Regions from separate parts of the Homo sapiens genome. Here region 1 is linked to region 2. Evidence: promoter capture Hi-C in human tissues and cell types (Jung and others, 2019). All regions are on one chromosome and are shown on one strand. Each heading gives the region's core, a stretch centred on a gene start or on the middle of the fragment in contact. The rest is flanking DNA. Distances are from core to core; before and after follow the strand shown.

Evidence for each region. The method cuts DNA at HindIII sites, captures the fragments that hold promoters and counts their contacts. A contact is called where the count stands out against the background at its distance.
Region 1: a contact is called between a fragment that was not itself captured here and the fragment with the promoter of SLC25A48 in region 2, in 2 of the 25 tissues and cell types used here (mesendoderm cells and spleen).

Annotation. Positions count from the first base shown.
Region 1 is chr5:135,742,945-135,747,599 of GRCh38, forward strand. It overlaps a transcript of SLC25A48 not described here. Among named protein-coding and RNA genes, the nearest start is that of MIR5692C1, 58 kb to the right of the region's middle. The HindIII fragment of the contact is 3,075 bases long and covers 466-3,540 here.
Region 2 is chr5:135,831,192-135,836,280 of GRCh38, forward strand. It overlaps SLC25A48 (solute carrier family 25 member 48), which reads left to right and starts at 3,472. Exons shown (of 8, transcript NM_001349336.2): 1 at 3,472-3,702. The coding sequence starts at 3,657. RefSeq lists an enhancer at 2,437-2,938. The HindIII fragment of the contact is 4,672 bases long and covers 748-5,089 here.

The sequences.
Region 1 (4,655 bases), core at 753-3,252, 90 kb before region 2:
TGTCTGGAGACCTCCCCCTCCCCCTCCCCTCCCTCCCCCCCCTCCCTTCCTCTCCCCTCCCTTCCCCTTCCCTCCCCTCCCCTCCCTTCCCTTTCCTTCCCCTCCCCTCCCCTCCCTTCCCTTCCCTTCATTTTTTTTTTTTTTTTTTTGACAGAGTCTCACTCTGTCATCCAGGCTGGAGTACAGTGGCATGATCTCAGCTCACTGCAACCCACCTCCTGGGTTCAAGTGATTCTCCTGCCTCAGCCTCCTAAGTAGCTGGGATTACAGGTGGCTGCCATCAAGCCTGGCTAATTTTTGTATTTTCAGTAGAGACGGTGTTTCTTTATGTTGGACAGGCTAGTCTGGAACTCCCGACCTCAAGTGATCCACCCGCCTCGGCCTCCCAAAGTGTTGGAATTAAAGGCATGAGCCACTACGCTCAGCCTGGAGACACTTTTCATTGTGACAGGAGAGGTACTGCTGGCATCTGATGGGTAGAGGCCAGGGATTGTGCTAATTGTCCTATGATACAGAGGACAGCCCCCCACAACAAAGAATAATCCTGCTCCAAATGTCAACAATGTGGAGGGTGAGAAACCCTGATAGATAGCAGGCACGTACTAAGTATCTGTCAATGAAACTATCTCATTTCAAATCCTTAACACACGAGGTATAATGGAAAATAAAATGTCTCATTACTGCTCAAATTCAAGTGAAAGTTAAGCCTGGAAACCTCCCAACACTGCTGTCCTCCTCCCCATCAACAGACAGCTGTTACTTCCCAACCTTGGATCAAAGCATTCTACATTAACTAGACCCCTGCAAAAGGCCAAAGGCCTCATGCATCTCCATCGTGGGATGACTGCCCTCACAAATTGCTCCTAAGGAGCTTCTTTGATGGCCCCTAAACCTTTGAAGATGAATATCCTCCCATAAACAAGGACATGTTAACTGTAACTTTAGGACTGTAACCTCAGTCTAACTCCTTGTCTGCTACTGATGTCTGTTAAATGTCACATTGATGATGTCCATCCATTACAAGCTTATCTTCTCACATGCCAAACAAAGACAGGATAAGATTAATCCTTCCTCTCCTACCCTGAGACATCTAATTAATTCTTCTTTTACTCCCTCTTTTGAATGTTTACCTTATCTTCTGTATAGCATAGATATACTGGGCTCTAATTTAAACCTCACAGGAATTTAACTAACTGCCTCAAGGCCTACTGCACTTTTTCCTGCATGCTTTTTCCCCTTTTAAAGAAATATATAAACACGAGCCTCCTGGAACCTCTCCAGGGAGCACAGGCCACAGACATTTCTGTGTTTTCCAGAGCATGCCCTCAAGCTCTGGCTCAATAAACCTCCACTGGTAGAGATGGTTCAGTCTCTCCATTGGATTGACAAGGTAACTATTTTTCTCTCCATTTTTTTTTTCTTTTGAGACAGGGTCTCACTCTGTCACCCAGGCTGGGGGGCAGTGGCATGATCTCAGCTCACTGCAACCTCCACCTCCCCAGTTCAAGTGATCCTCCCACCTCAGCCTCAAGAGTAGGCACGCATCACCATGCCAGCTAATTTTTGTGTTTTTAGTAGAGACAGGTTTCACCATGTTGGCCAGGCTGGTCTTGAACTCCTGACCTCAAGTGATCCACCTGCCTCGGCCTCCTAAAGTGCTGGGATTACAGGCGTGAGCCACCGCACTTGGCCTGTCTCCATTTTTGATGAGGAACCAGAAGCTCAGAGAGGTTATGACTATTGCTGATGGTCACACCACATGGACCCAAGAATCAAACCCAACTCTCTCTTTGAACTCCTTCAAGATTCTCCCCCTTGGCTGGGTGTGGTGGCTAACACCTGTAATCCCAGCTTTGGGAGGCTGAGGCAGGCAGATCACCTGAGGTCTGGAGTTCAAGACCAGCCTGGCCAGCATAATGAAACCCTGTCTCTACTAAAACTACAAAAATTAGCCAGGAGAGGTGGCGGGCATCTGTAGTCCCTGCTACTGGGGAAGCTGAGGCATGAGAATCACTTGAAACCAGGAGGCGGAGGTTGCAGTGAGCTGAGATCATACCACTGCACTCCAGCCTGGGCTACACAGTGCCGAGACCAGCTCGGTTGTGGAGACCCTAACCCAGCAGTGCTAGAGGAATTAAGACAAAGACACAGAAATAGAGTGCAGAGTGGGAATCAGGGGGCTGACAGCCTTCAGACCTGAGAGCCCCGAACAGAGTTTGACCCACATACTTATTGACAGCAAGCCAGTGATAAGCATTATTTCTATAGATCATAGATTAGCTGAAAGCATTCCTTATGGGAAACAAAGGGACAGGCTCTGGCTTGTTATCTGCAGCAGGAACATGTCCTTAAGGCACAGATCGCTCATGCTATTGTTTGTGGTTTAGGAACACCTTGAGCGGTTTTCCACCCAGGGTGGGCCACGTGTTCCTTGCCCTCATTCTGGTAAACCAACAACCTCCAGCGTGGGTGTCATAGCCATCACAAGCATGTCACAGTGCTGCAGAGATTTTGTTTATGGCCAGTTTCTCATGGCCTGTTTATGGCCAGATGTGGGGGGCCTGTTCCCAGCAACACAGCAAGATTCCCTCTGGAAAAAAGGCCAGCGGGGGTGGTGGGAAGAAAAAAAAAGATTCTCCCCCTGCCTCCTGCTTTTTAAGGTCCTTCTGAGCAGGCTCCTAAGGTCCTCCCATCCTTGAATCTGTGCTTCACAGCACTTAAAGCTGTGGTGGTTTAGTTGCTAGCTCACGTGTTTATATTTCCCCTGTTAAGCTAAACTCCACTAGGGCAGTGACCATGCCTGATCCCCAGCTGTGTCCCCAGCACAGCACAGTACCTACGAGGCGGTCAACACACTTCTGTTGAATGAACGGAAGAATCACTCCTCAAAAGGAAGAAAATTATGTCAAGAAAATAGCTGGCAGAGCCAGGATTTAAGTCTGAGGACTCCCTGACTTTGAAGCTTATCCCATTTTCTCTGTGGTCAGTTATTGTCACTCAAACTTCTGTCCCGGATCCTCTTAATTAATGTCCCTTCTGATGCTGCACAGGTTAGTCTTGGCCTCCATCCGTGCCACATCCTTTGCTCTCGCCTTCTACAGTCCTCCTCCCTGTCACTCATTTCAAGCTCCGCCCTCACGCTGCCTACTTTTCATGCTCAGCGCCCTCTAGGCCCCACTCCTCTCCGTATACAATACCTTCTAGCCCGTACCCATCACTCATTCTGCAGATCCCGCTCCCTCCCTCCCATGTGCAGCCTTTTCCAGGCCTGCGCCTCTCACTTCCTGTTGAGGCCTTGCCTTTTTCTTACCCGGGTCTGGGGTAGCCCCCACTCCAGAAGTGCACAGCCGCTGGTTGGGGCATCCCTGACATGAAGCACCTTGGCCTCCCTGGGCACTGAGGGCCCCTGGAAAGTCTGCACAGAGACAAGACCACAGTTACAGCAGCTCGCTACAGTTTTGCCCTGCCACCCACGCCTCCTCCAGGAACTCACGTGAGGCACCTTCTCCATTCTGTCGCCTTTGCTGCCTTTGTGGTCACCGGAACTGCTGTCGTGCATTTCCGCCTTGCAGGTACAATCCGATTCTCCGGTGCAAAATAAGTCTCCAAAAGAGAGGGCTGTGGGCACGCGTGAACCTTGGGCGGAGCGACTGGGACTCACTTCTGTTCCTTTTCAGGGATTTCCTATCATACATACTTCGGCAGTGCATCTCCTAAGAACACAGGCATTCTTCATGACCTCAGTGTCATTTTCATACCCAAGAGATTTAATATCGATGCAGTACTATTAGTCAATAGACAGTTTATATTCCAATTTTAATTGTTCCAAATAAGACCCCTCCCACCCTAGATTCACTCATTGCCTGGAGTTACGTCTCTTTGGTCTCCTTTAATTCAGATCAGTCCTTCCTTTTTTTAGGGGGAGTCTCATCACATTGATAATTTTGACAGCTCCAGACCCGTTGTCTTATAGAATATCCCATAATCTTGATTTGTCTGATCCTCTCCTCACTCTTGCCCCGTCATTAGATTCAGGTTAAGTATTTTTTGTTGTTGTTTTTTTTTCCTGCAGAACACACTTGGATAATGTCAATTTGTCCCGTTTTTGGTAATGTGAAGCTTGATGGCTTGGTAAAGGTGGTGTCTGCCCCATTTTTCCAGTGAATGGTACCCTCTGCCATTTGTAATTAACAAGTATTCTCTGGGGTGATGCACTGAAAGACCATGTGACCATCTTCTTCCCTATCAGCCTTTCACTGAGTGATTTTAGCAGCATTGATGTAATATATATAACTATAGATACAGTTTCATATATGATATCTATATATATATCTATATATCAGTTATATACCCTCTCTTTTTTTTCTTTCCTTTTTTTTTTGGAGTCTCACTATGGATTCCTGGATTTTTTTTTAATTTGTCTTTTATAATAAATTATTATTATGCTTTCTGGTCAATTTTTCCCCCCAAGTGTGGTCAGTGAAGCCGCTTCAAGACAGTTCTTATGTTCTTTGGGCACTAATACAACTTCTTTGAGCATTTTCTTGCTTTCTGATACAATAAGATATTTCAGTCATCCCTTCTCACTGCTGCAGTCATTTCTTCGGGGAGCCTTGGTTACTTTTAGCAGACAACAGTTCAGAAACCAAGATCTG
Region 2 (5,089 bases), core at 2,222-4,721:
CAGGGGGAGTCCTCACACCTGGGAATGATGTGACCACCTCTTCAGCTCTGTCTTGTATCCAGACACCCTCCTTGTCTGCCAGCCACCAGCAGGACCTTCAGACTTTTCCCCATGTCTCCTCATTTAAGGCCCAGCGGACTAAGCAGTGACTGACTGCCCATCAGGCCTGCGCCAGGCTCTGCAGGTCCAGTGCAGAATGAGGCAGTACCCTCTTCTCAGTGGGCTCACAGTCTGGATGGGAAGACAATCAACCACTGAGTCTGACAGCAGAGATACAGATATGCTCAGAATATTCAGGAAACACAGATGAGATCTAGAAGATACCATGTGGCATAGGGTGATGAGGAAGGCCTTCAAGAAAGGCCTGTCAGGAGGTGACAGCTGAACTGAGTCTTAAAGAAGAAGGGGGCAGGGATTAGCCAGGGGAGGAGGGAGAGGGTGTTCCCCACAAGGGAATAGCATGTGCGCAGTCACACACATGCACAGAATGTGAGACATTGAGGTGCAAAGTGGAAAAGCAGCCAGACCCAGTCCTACTGAGCTACACACAACACACTGGGGAATTGGAATTTATGCTCAAGATCACAGAAAGTCATCAAAGTTCACTAAACTGAGCAGATTCAAAGTTTCAGAAGCTCACTGGGGCAGTAGGACAGGGGCAGAGGGACCCAGGAACCCGTGTCCACTGTGATCCAGGCAGGGCAGTGGCACAGGGCTGGGCTGAGCCACATTCGGAGACAGCAATGAGGGCTGGGTGTCATTGAGGGGATGGACACTCAGGACTTTGCGGCTGGTGGGATAAGACCTTGGGAGAGAGAAATGGAGGATGGCATCCAAGGTTCTGTTTTGGGTGGCCACTGGGTGGAGGTGTGTTTCTCTAAGTTGAAGAGGCACTGGCGGAGGAAGAGAGAGTTCATCGAGGGATGCGCTAAGATGACCCGAGCCACCCAGGTGGAGGTGTTGAGTAGAGGGATGTCTGGACTCTGAAGCAAGGTGTGGGGGTTATACGCTGAGAGATGGGAGGTACGGGTGGGTGAGGGTCCAGATGGGGCCCTGAGGAATTCACACCTAAGCATGAGAAGGGGCCATGGCACCAGGGAAGAAGATGAGAAGAGCTGGAGAAGCAGGAGGAAAGCTGGGTGAGGGCAGGAATCTGGAAGCAGAGGGGAGCAGGCGGCATGGGCAGCGCCTTCACTGCAGCAGGTCAGGCATGGACAGCTGACCCAGGCCTTTGCTGCCCGAGTGTGGCAGGTGGACATGGGGAGGGGATTGTTGGCTTGCCTGAGAGAGTGGTTGGGGAGGTGGGAGCTGTGGGGCTGTGTAGACTAAAGGTGCAGCCAGGAGACTCCAAGTTTGGAGAGCCTTCCCTGATTGCTTCCTGTAGAACGATGGACTCCCTCTCCAGTGCTCTTACAGCCACCTCTGTGTAGCATCTCAGATGGATTGTCTCCTCTCAAACAGAGACTTTCCCCAAAGCAAGGCACTAGCACAGACTGATGCTCAGGAAATTGCTGTGGCCTGAAAGGGTAAATAAGAAATGGGGAGTGGGCCACTAGTTAACAAATGCTATCAGCATAGCCCATCTGCATGTCCTGCTACTGAGGAAAGTGCTCTGAGAGGTCATCATTGGGGAAGGAACTGAGGGAGAAAGAAAATGGGGTTGCTTTCTGGCCCTAGTCATGCAGGGAGTGGATCTCTGTGGAGTTTCTTTCTCTCTGTAATGGCCAGTAGCTGCCCTGCCCTCTCCCGAGTGTAGAATGCAAATGTGAATGGCAGCACACTGCAAATGGTGCTCTGAAGTGCGAAGGCCAGGAAGAAGGGATGGCCTGGATCCTGGCCACAGAGCCAGCATTCTGCCTGGGCTCATAGCCCTGTGGTCTGGGATTCTCCAGGCCTGGCCATGGTTGCTGGTAAACCTAGGGTCCTCCCCTCACTTCCCTGGGTGATGCGCCCCATGGGCAGGTTTGTGGCATGCATATGGGAATGGAGCACAGTAATTCATTTTGGAAAGCAACCCACTCCTGCTCTGCTCCAGCTCGTTAGTAGTTCAAGCAGCAGCTTTCTGGGCCTGGGAGGCCATCCTGGGCTGCCAGGGACACTGCCTGCCAACGTAAGACCTCCTCAATTGGTGCTGACACAGGACTGAGGGGATGACAAACTGCCTGGCACCCCTTAGGTGGTCTTCCAGAGGAGTGGGTTTTGAGAATTGTCAGGCTTTCCACTTGTGGATGCATTCCAATGGTGAACTCAGTAAAAGGCCACTCTTCAGAGACCTGCATTTCTCATAGCAGCCCTAGGCATATATCCCGGGCATGACAGGGCACAGCTTGGGGTTGATGCTGATGGCAACTCTGAAGCCTCAAGACTGAGTGGGTCACCATAAGCAGCAGGAAGTTGAGGTGCCGGGATGGGGTGTGATGCTTCCACTCCTCCCTGGAACTTTGCAATACTTCCCTAGCCAGGCCGGCGACTCCATCCCGGGCTGTCCTCTCCCGATACAGGTCCACTCTCTGTGTGCCGGGGCAGGGGAGGGAGTGATGCTGCAGGAAGGTCCCTTCACCTCCAAGTCCCCACTCCTCAGTGGACAGGCCTTTGTAGGATCAAGCTTCGGTGGTCAGGCTCTGTCTTGCTTTGGAAGAAGGAGGTCTGGCTGGCTGTCGCTTCATATTAACCTGGATGACGTGACATGAATATGCCCAGTGGGACAAGAGCAGGCCCAGCAGAGGCCCCTTCCTCCTGACCATACCCTTCACCATTCTTGTCAACCTTGGGGTGTCTTGGCTGAGACCCACAGCTGAGTCCCTGCTGGAAACTAGCAGAACGCTGGGGGGCTTCGAGTCTTCTTAGGAAGGGAGGAAAGACACTCTCATTGTAATCAAAAGCCTCTCCGCACAGCAGGCCACTTCTCCAGTGAGCACGGACCCCTGGCCTGGGGCCTGGCTGAATGTAGGGTCTGCCTACAGAGAGGGAGTTTGAGGTACAGAGCACCACCTCTGCCTTCTGTTGGCCCAGGGCGGACAGTGTAGGGTGAGCCAGGGCCAGGCAGGGAGCTGGGCCCCTAGAGAGCTGTAGCTGAAAGTTAGACATGACCCTGAACCACCAGGTGCCTGCTCTAGGCACGGGGTACTGAGTGGGACATGGCTGAGATGAACAAAAAGGCATCACTGCCCAGAGTTGGGATGGGAGAGAGTCCACAGCTGATTGGAATCAGCATTGTCAGCACAGCACAGTACAGGGAGATACGCGCATTGCCGTCTCTGGATGGGCGGCTGGCACTTTCAGTTCAAAGGCGCTGAGGCTCTGAAGTTGGCAAGGAAGAGGATAACCCGGAGAAGGGAGGACTAAGAGAATTTCACTTGATGACCCTTGCCTCTTTGTGTCTGGGATGAGCCGCGCGGAGCGCACCCTTATCCACCCAGAGTGCTGTGCCTTTAAGGTCCACTGGGGGCGTGATGTCAGCCGCCCTCCGGCACTTGGAGAGGTGAGCGCGGCAGCCCGCGCAGCCGGTGACTGGGGGACTGGGTTTGGAGTAGGACCTGCGGCGTGCTCGAGACTCCGACTTCGGTCTTGCGGCGCGCTCGCGCCCGCGGGCCATGCCCCACTGACTCTAAGTGGGCACTGCCCCGGCTCCGGGAGGGCGAGACCGAGCGCCGGCCATGGGAAGCTTCCAGCTGGAAGACTTTGCGGCGGGCTGGATCGGAGGTGAGTGTGCTTACCGGGGACCCCCGGTCAGAGAGAGCGAGCCTGGCGGAGTTTGCCTCTATGCTCTGAGGAAACTTTGCCTCTGTGCGCTGCCATCCCGCTCCCCGTTGTGCGCGCAGCCTGCTTTGGGGAGTGCCCGGCCCCGAGATCCCCCTGGTGGTCTTGCAGTTGCCAGGGCTAAATTCTGAGAGCTTCACAGCGTTTCGGGCTGAGCTTCTGATTTGCTCATTAAGTTAGGATCCGTGGGACTTGATGAGGTAATGATTAAACAGCTCGTCAAAGCCCACAGCCAATGGAGGCTCCTGGCGGCGCACACACCCTTCAGTGACCTGGTGCACACCTGAATTGCGGACGTGGCTCGCGGGAACTTATGTATGAGGGTAGCGCTTGGCTGCTGATCCCGGGGCGCAGGGTGGTGGGAGCCAGGCTTCGAGATTAGGCCGGCCCAACGGGGCGTCCCGACTGGAGGGAGCAGAGCTCTCACAGCAGGGAGCGGAGCGCCGGCTGCAGGTGCCCATTGCCAGGCTGCGAGGAGCACTTATTGCCTTCAGCCGCCGCCAACCGTCAGCCATCGCCTACCTCCAAGGCCCCTTCTCCGGGCACTGTTGGGTCTGCTGATCCCTTCGCCACAGCTCCCGAAGCCACTCTTTTACTGGGCCTGGGATGGGTTGCCTGGGCGAGAGTTGCATTCATTTCCTTGCTTCTCCATTTTTCTTTCCAATTGGTCTATCCCTCTTTTCTCAGCTATTAGGAAAGGGGGAAGTTTGAGGGACTTTGCTAATTGTAAAAAAAAAAAAAAAAAAAAAAAAAAGTCTTTCTTTGGACCCATCTAAAAGGGTTATCCTAAAAGGGATGTTGGCAAATGTAGCCCCTCACCAAAGGGGTGAAAAAATAAGATGAAAAGAACAACAAACCAGATTGGATCCCAACTCCTCCCCTCCTACCTAGCAGGAGACCACCTCTCTCCCGAGACCGGTGGCTGCAGGGCCCTGCTTCACACCTTCCTGAGCAGAGGTGGCTCCTTTCACCTTGAGTAAGTCTGTTGGCACAGATGCCCTTGGGTGGGGCTGAGACCCGCCTCTCCTAACTTTCCCAGTTAGGGGGCTGCAGCCTGAGGCCCGCTGGGCATATCCAGGTCCTTTTTGACTGGACAATTATTCCACCATTCAGCGGGGCAGGCAGAGAGAGGAGACACTTCCGTGGGCTGCCCCTTAAATAAGCAGACCACCTTCGGTAGGGATGCAAATGGCTTGGTTTGAAAAATGCCCTGGAAGGTAGGGCTGAGTCAGAGTAGTTCCAAGACTCTGATACCCCTCCCCATCCCCAAACGTGATAACATGTGAACCCTCCCCGACTCACAGCAAGTAGGGGATTTTTGTGCTTTATT